3 separate regions of the Homo sapiens genome follow, and regions 1 and 2 are each linked to region 3. Evidence: promoter capture Hi-C in human tissues and cell types (Jung and others, 2019). All regions are on one chromosome and are shown on one strand. Each heading gives the region's core, a stretch centred on a gene start or on the middle of the fragment in contact. The rest is flanking DNA. Distances are from core to core; before and after follow the strand shown. Region 1 overlaps ASTN2 (astrotactin 2). Region 2 overlaps ASTN2 (astrotactin 2). Region 3 holds the start of ASTN2 (astrotactin 2).

Region 1 (2,700 bases), core at 186-2,685, 240 kb after region 3:
TCTTTTAAGCATCTAAAACAGCATCTGGCACTCAAACAGTATGCCCTTGATGAATGAATTGTTGAATGAAATCATCTCAGCAGGTTATTTTACACTGCCTTTTTCCCATTCGTGAGAGAAAACTTGGATAGAAATGTTACCCACTCTGGGATTCACAAGCCACGTGACCATTCCCAGATCACATCCACCTCTCTGAGCCACAGCTGAACCAGTTCACAAATGGGGACAATGGGGACTTTCCTCTCTATATTACCTCAAGTGTGTGAGGAATGTATGAGGTGATGCATGTAGATTAATAGTCATAGCTAATTTTTAAAAGGTAACACTCAATAAAGTATATGCAGTGCATATAAATTGCACTAGACTTAAATGTATTCTTGGTTTTCTTTATGTATGCCTATACTCAAGTAACCACCACCCAGACCAACATATAGATCTGTGCCTCCCGATACAGTGGCCTTTGAAATTAAAATTAATGAAAATTAATTAAACTTAAAAGTCCAGTTCTTTGGTCAAACAAGCCACATTCTAAGGACCCGGTGGCAGCATATGCCTATTCTACAGTACCTACTGTATCACACAACATAGAATATGAACAATGTCATTGTAACAGAAAGTTCTGCTGGGCAGCCTTATGATAGAATAATTCTAGCACCCCTTATGTTTCATTTTTTTGTACCTTCCTAGACCATGTCCACCCATAAAAAGTAAACAGTACTCTGGCTTCTTAGATCATAAATTGATATTTCCTGTGCTTCATAGATATGCGATCCTACAGATGCGTTATTTTGTGTCTGCCTTCTTTTCACTCAAAACATCATGTTTGAGATTCATCCATGTTGTTGCAAGTATTGATAATTTTTTTTAATTACGATATAGTGTCCCCTTATATGAATTTACTAAAATGTATATAGTCATTCTTTTAAACACTAATGTTTAGATAGTGTATTAGTTCATTTTCACACTGCTATAAAAAGTGCCCAAGGCTCGGTAATTTATAAAGGAAAGAGGTTTAATTGAGTCACAGTTCCACATGGCTGGGGAGGCCTCAGGAAACTTAAACTTACAATTATGGCCGAAGGTGAAGAAGGAGCAAGCACCTTCTTCACAAGGCAGTAGGAGAGAGAAGAAGGAGCAAAGGGGGAAGAGCCCCTTGTAAAACCATCAGATCTCATGAGATCTCACTCACTATCACGAGAACAGCATGGGGGAAACCGATCCCATGATCCAGTCACTTCCCACCAGGTCCCTCCATTGACACATGGGGATTATGATTCAATATGAGATTTGGGTGGGGACACAGCCAAACCATATCAAATAGATTACTCCATACCAGGTACTAGGTTAGACATTTACTCAAATAACTCATTTTACATTAACACCAGTGCTTTGAGAAAAGTACTGTTATTAGTTTCATTTTATAGATTCATCCACAGAGAGGTTAAACAACCCTTCTGCAGTCACACAGCTAGGCCAGGAACCCATGCAGGCAGGGCTTTCTCTGGAGCCTTTACTCTTTGGACATGACACTAACCCTGTACCTGTACTCTGTGAGGCATTGCATACCTGCAAATGTTTCAGTTAGTTGGGCAAAGGAGAATATTTCTATTCTGTGCTTCCTCGTAATATTTTTTCTTTTCTTTTCTTTTTTTCTTTTGCCTTTGTTTGTTTCTAGTTTTATTTAAATTCCTCCTGCAAAGTGCTAGCATCCTGAGAAGTTAGTCCAAATTCTATGGGATGTCGCTGAGAGCTCTCATCCTTGGAGAGCTCAGGATCTCAGGATGGCATGGTTGGTGGTAATGATGCGGTTCCCAGCAACTTTGAGCCCAGCCTAGAACCATGCTGCCCTGTCACATAAAGAAGGGGCAGAACACATCTAGGCATCTGTCTCTTGGTACATGTATTTGTGGAACCTAATGTGGACAATGGATACGATACCTGGCAAGGTATGGCTTGCTTATATTAGTATGTGGGAAAAGCAGAGTTGTTTTGCAAAATCAAATCACTCTGCTCCCTGCCTCTTTTCTGAAGACTAAAATGAGAAATGGGATACGGCCAAGCCTGCTTCTGCCTCAAGGTGTTTCATCTGCTGTCTTCTCTGTTGGAACACTCTTCTCTTAAATACCTACCTGGCTGCTTGTGACCTCTTCAGTCTCTGCATACATGTTACTTTCCCCATAAGGTCTCCCCAGGCCTTCTCATTTTAAATAGCACTCACTCCAGCAATTCATGCTTCTTTTTCCTGCCTGATCTTTCTCTTTAGTGTTTAGCATCATCTGACAAAGCTTATATTTTACTTATTGATGCAGTTATTGCTCTCTGCCCCATTAGAAAGCATGCTTCATGCAGGTAGAAATTTTGTCTTCCTTCTTCATTGAATCCCTAGTGCCTTCATCAGTGTTGTCACCTAGCAGGTGCTCAATCAATATTAATGGATGAATACATTAATTAATAGATAAGTTCTGAAGAAGATTGCAACTGAGGTCATATAAGGATGAGACACACAATGGGAAACAGAGGATGTCAATGATATACAAGCACATTGTATTTGGAGTGGCTGGAAGGTGGATGCAATTGAAATTGAATTAAGACTCTCAAGCAAAGGAAAGGAAGTATGAGATTTATTTAGTGCCTACTATGTGCCAAACTGAATCTTATTACTATTAAATACTTGCTATTTAATGATTATATGCAGTGTGT
Region 2 (2,700 bases), core at 5-2,504, 220 kb after region 3:
ATTTAATATTATACAATAAGTATTTCAACATGCATGTAATTCTATCTCATGACTGCTTCATAATGTATTTATTGATGGACATTTTAGCAGCTTTTTTTTTTTTTTTTTTGCTATTTTGTATTCAACATCAACAACCATTTTTAGTCTTAAATTCATTTTCACTATTCTGTGTTATTTCCTCAGGGTATATTCCCAGGAGTGGAATTATTGGGTCAAATGGTCTGAATGTTTTAAAGTTCTTGATACATGTTTAGCTCAATATCTGTTGGGAAGTCTCCATACACATTTGTTAAATAAGGTAACATTTATTCATCTATTTTTCATTCATTAATTCAACAAGCTTTAATTAAGTACCTACTGTGTGTCAGGAACTATTTAAGGCACTGAAGATAAAGCAATAAATAAGATATATGCAAGTCAATTTCTATAGCAGTTTCTTTCTAGCACAGAAAGACTATAAGCAAATGAACAAAATATATGTATATATTAGATATATAATAATGAATGATAATAATTGCAATGGGGGAGAAAGAAAACAAAGGAGGGAATTAGGGCCCTCAGGAAAGGTCTTAATGATCAGATAACACATGAAAACTGATCTACAGGAGATGAAGAGGCAAGCCATTTGAATATTTGAGGAAACAGCTTTTTGGGCAGAGGGAACAGCAGGTATAAAGGTCCCTGGCACCAGTGTGATTGGAGCACTAGAGGAATAGGGAGGAGTAGCATTGAGAGAGAGAGCACTAGAATAAATTGGGTTATAGGAGCAGTGGTAAGAAAGTCATGTAGAGCCTGATAGAAAGGGACACTGACTCTTCCTGTGAGTGACATGAAAAGCCATTGGAAAATGGGGGAATGAATTTTTGCAAAGGTGGTAAACAGTTAGGGCCAAACTGAGAAGGAGTGATTTGGACATAGAGTTGCAACTCAGAAGCGAGGATACTAACGAGAGCAGAGAATAGAGATTGTACTATGGAAACTCACAGGCAGAATTTAGCCCCTACATAATGTTTTGTTTTGTTTTGTTTTTGCTTGCCTACAGGGTATATTTTTGAATTCAGTTGTTAATATATATAAATTGGAAAATTTCACATAGAAATTCACATTTCTGCCTCACTTGGTGACTGAAGGATCTCAAAACCTTAGGCCCATTCTTGTGCCTTCCAGCACTTAGCAGGAGCTGAGTGGTAGCAACTGCTTTGGAAGGGCTGCTCTCTCTACTTCATCAGGAACACCACCTGATTAAGTTCCTTAACCTAAATTCTCCCTCCTTCCTGAGAGATTGGAACTCACATCTCCCAGAGGAAGGAGAAATTGAGACAGCCCTTATGATCTGAGCAGTGGGAACCCAGAGTATACAGGAACAATGGATTCACTTCCTATTTTGTGTAGCAAGAGCGGGAGGCCTTAGGATCTTTAAGACTTTCTAGAAGGTATGTATCTTCACTCTCCATTAGTATAAGGGTAGGGATGCACAGATTAGTCTAGGAAAGGATACCACTCTCTTTCAACTCCTTGAGTTTTGTTTTACCAGCCAGGCAGAGGCTGGCAGCAGATCAGAGACCAAGAGACCTTTAAGAACTTTGACAGCAGAGGATAAAGTAGTTAAGATGCCCAACTCTTGAACCAGACACACCGGGGTCCAGTTTCACCTTACTAATACTTTTGAGATTCAACCTCCTCACCTCTAAAATGGGATTACTTGTTTTGCAGTATTCTTGTAAGAATTAAGGAAATCATATATATAAAATAGCACAGTGTTTTGACTCAAGAAATGGAAGCTATTATTGACATGTTGTCTGAAATATTCATTTCATTCAACAGAGACCCAGGGAGGGGAGAGAGGTATCTGAAGTTACACAGCAAGTTAATACTGGGTGTATGGGGGATGCAGCGTTTGTGGGGAATGGTGGCTTTGATGTGGACATTCTGTTTCTAGTCAATGCCATCTTAACGTTTCAACCACACCACTTCTGAAGGAGTTCCTTTCTATCCATGTTCCAGCCCATGCCTTTGTCTTGACTCATCATAGGAGATTGCTAAATATGTTTAAAATGAATGGGTGAATGGGCAAATGAATATATCCCTGACTGGAAGGGACTAATTTGCTGCCTAGTGGGTAGTGGGTAAACAGCAGTTCTCCTGATCCTATCTCCTGAGCACTTTTAAGTGCCGTTGTTTTCTTTCTCTACAGCTTACAATCCTCACCTTTTTTGTGTCCTTTTATAAGACATTGTTCAGGATGTAGGAGTCTCCTATCTGGGAGGTTAGGATGTCTGGCAGACAGGACCTTCTACCCACTGTCCCAGGTGGGGACAGGAGGGGACACTAGAATTATGAAGTCCTGGTGAGAATGGACGGCCATTCTCAGACTCCACGCTCTGGGGAAAGGGCACTCACTGATGCTCAGGTAGATGTAGTGCTGCCCACTGAGCATGGTTAGAGAGGCCACCGACCTGCCTGCAAATAGATAATTCCCACGGGTACCTGGCTCCCATGGGACTCTCAAAATGTGGATGCTTTTACAGTCAGTAGCCCATAGAATCATTATTCCTTGGCATTTCCAAGTCAGACATTTATTGAGTGCCCTTTCTTCTCCACATTTAAAAACTGTAGTACCTTAAACAAGTTGTTTATTCTCATCTATGCATGCTTTCTCATCCGTGGAATGAATGCTGAACCCCTGTAACTTGGCTAGAA
Region 3 (2,864 bases), core at 243-2,742:
TTTTTGGATTATGGTCATGTAAAAAAGCTAACATACGTACATGTCTAGCATTTGGAGAATGCTTTAAACACATTAAGTCCAAGGTCGCAAAACAGCTTTTGCTTTTTTCCTTATTTTCAGTGCTCTGCCTTTATCCAACGTTATTAAAAAATATATGATGAGAGAGGAGAAAAGCAATTTATATGAAGGGTTAAAGATAGAAAAGGGGAATGAGACAGAAGAGGGAAGAGCTAAGAGAAAAGTGAATGCATAGAGACAGCACAAAAGGTGCAGATGGGTAAGCTAGACAGAGATGAGAAGTTGCTCACAAATTATAGGAAAGAAGCATTTGTAAGATTAAAGTCAAGATGAGAAGGAAGGAAATGAATGGAGAGATGAAACAGAAAACAGAGACAGGGAAGATGAAGAAAAGTAGGGGAGTGGGGAAGGGGCTGCACGGCACTTGACCCATGCAGAGGTGTCCGCTCCCTGGAGGGTCTCAGGTATGTGGGTCAGAGACAGAGTCAGCCCAAGACCAAAGGGTGCTGAATCTGAGGACCTAGCTCAACTTGAGTCTAGAAAGACTGCAGGTGAAGAATTGGTGAGCACTCCCGTTCTCTGGGACTTGGGCAGAGGATCTAAAAGACCCGGGAGCCAAGGACAGACAGAATAGTAGGTCTCTACCTCACACCCTTTTCAGGAATTTCACACAGAGAGCAGAAGCAGCCAAGTAGAGCTGCTCCAAGCTGGGAGCAGGGATCCAAAATAAAAAAGCGTGAGTGGGCTGGCTTGCAGGGCGGCAGCTAGGGGGCCAGAACAGCCCGGCTTCAGTCAGTTGTGGGGTCGGCGTTAGACGGTGGAGTTCGACGCCCCTCTGTCCATTAGCAATTAGTGCTAGCACAAGGCCTGGATGGAGGGGAGAGGAAGGTTTGCGGGCAGTGGGAGAATGAATGCAGGAGTTGTGGCCAAGTGGGTGGGAAGGGGGCTCTGAGGCTACAGGAAGTTATTTCAGAGACTAGAAAAGGGTAGGAGATTGGAGAAAGGACTTGTTCTTGGGCCTGAGGGGAGACAAAGTTAAGTCTTGGCTATCCAGGGGGCTCCCTATCCCCAAGAAGGCGGGGCCTTGAGCAAGGCTGGGCCAAGGCGCGCCCCCAGGTGCAGCCTCTGGGTTGAGCCGAAGGTGGGGTGAAGCCAGGAGAACTGGGTTGAGTCAGGGGGGCTTGGGGGGGCCCGAGGGGGCCCTAAGTATTAGGAATTTGGGGAGTTTAGGGAGGGGTGTTGTGGCTAAAGAATGCTGTGAGGGCGGAATTGGGGGATCTTGGGAAAGGGGAGGGAGCCACTGGGACTTGCACGAGGCCGGGCGGAGCCTCCGAAACGCTCGGGGTCTGCGGGGGGAGCCGGAGATCGGGGACGGGCGGCTGGGCCCCGGGAGGCGGCGCGGGGGGGCGGTCCAGGGCCGATCGGGAGGCGGAGCCCGGAGCTGGGGGCTGCTGGCGAGCGGCTCTCTCCGCTCCTTAGCTCGGGCGTCCTGGTTCGCTTCGGCGTCCGCCGTCTCCGCAGCTGCCTCCTCTTCCTCCTTCGCCACCGCCGCCACCGCCGCCGCCGCCCGCAGCACCGCAGCCCCTCCCGCCATGGCCGCCGCCGGCGCCCGGCTCAGCCCCGGCCCCGGCTCGGGGCTCCGGGGGCGGCCGAGGCTCTGCTTCCACCCGGGGCCGCCGCCACTGCTGCCGCTGCTGCTGCTGTTCCTGCTCCTGCTGCCGCCGCCGCCGCTGCTGGCCGGCGCCACCGCCGCTGCCTCGCGGGAGCCCGACAGCCCGTGCCGGCTGAAGACCGTCACGGTGTCCACACTGCCCGCCCTGCGGGAGAGCGACATCGGCTGGAGCGGCGCCCGCGCCGGGGCCGGGGCTGGGACCGGGGCCGGAGCCGCCGCCGCCGCCGCGTCCCCGGGCTCTCCTGGCTCTGCCGGCACCGCCGCCGAGTCGCGCCTCCTGCTCTTTGTGCGTAACGAGCTGCCGGGGCGCATCGCGGTGCAGGACGACCTGGACAACACCGAGCTGCCCTTCTTCACCCTGGGTAAGGCTGGGCGCCGGCACGCGCTAGATCCCAAGGAACCCCGAGCCCCTGCGTCATGCCGGACGGGTGGGGGCGCCCTGGGGATCCCTGCCCGGGGCTGCCCCGAGTGGGGTTGGCAGAGGGTAGAGGAGGGGCCCAGAGGTCGCACAGGTGGTTGGAAACGAGCATGTGGGAGGAGGTCCTGGAGAGCGCGCGGCGGGAGCCTGGGGGCGTGCCAACCCTCCCGCAGTGGGAACCTGCCCCTCTGCCTCTCAGTCCCGACCTGGAGCTCTGCTTGATCCATCCCGGAAGCCGGAGACCCCATTCACTGAAGGTGCTCTGGCTAGGGGCCGGAGCATCCCAGATCCTAAGCCAGTTTCAGGTCGAGCCTCCCACTTCTCCGGGTACCGTCACTGGCCACCCGCCGTCACCGCCCCCTCGCTCTCGCCTCGGAGTTGCGGGTTCTGCCCTTCCAGATGGATTTTCATGAGAGTAGGAATGGAGTAGTTCCGTGTGGAATCGCTCAACCCGCAAAAGCGTGGCTTCCGCATGGGCTGAGTGACCTTGGCCAAGTCGCTTCCCTTCTCTGAGCCTCAGTTCTGGCCATCTGTGAAATAGGGCTGGAGAGACTTGAGTGGTTGCTGAGAACTGGGATTCCGACTCCGAGGTCTCCACGTTTAGAGCCTCCCTCTACCCCCGTTACCGCCTTCCCTTTCTACCCACCTCCAGGCAGAGAGCCGGTTTGTCCTTGCAGCTCACTCCCTGGGCTAATAATAATTACTTAAAGGCAAGAAAAAGGAGAGGAGAGGAGATGGGTGTGGGTGGGGGGCTCC

Evidence for each region. Contacts are between HindIII fragments. The study calls those that stand out against the background at their distance.
Region 1: a contact is called between a fragment that was not itself captured here and the fragment with the promoter of ASTN2 in region 3, in 3 of the 25 tissues and cell types used here (dorsolateral prefrontal cortex, heart left ventricle and mesendoderm cells).
Region 2: a fragment that was not itself captured here is called in contact with the fragment with the promoter of ASTN2 in region 3 in 2 of the 25 tissues and cell types used here (mesendoderm cells and thymus).

The regions. Positions count from the first base shown.
Region 1 is chr9:117,170,114-117,172,813 of GRCh38, reverse strand. All of the region lies in intron 3 of ASTN2 (astrotactin 2), which reads left to right. Among named protein-coding and RNA genes, the nearest start is that of SNORA70C, 9.7 kb to the left of the region's middle. The HindIII fragment of the contact is 7,792 bases long and covers 1-2,700 here.
Region 2 is chr9:117,188,637-117,191,336 of GRCh38, reverse strand. All of the region lies in intron 3 of ASTN2 (astrotactin 2), which reads left to right. Among named protein-coding and RNA genes, the nearest start is that of SNORA70C, 8.8 kb to the right of the region's middle. The HindIII fragment of the contact is 6,473 bases long and covers 1-2,700 here.
Region 3 is chr9:117,413,685-117,416,548 of GRCh38, reverse strand. ASTN2 (astrotactin 2) reads left to right here and starts at 1,492. Exons shown (of 23, transcript NM_001365068.1): 1 at 1,492-2,052. The coding sequence starts at 1,611. The HindIII fragment of the contact is 9,596 bases long and covers 1-2,864 here.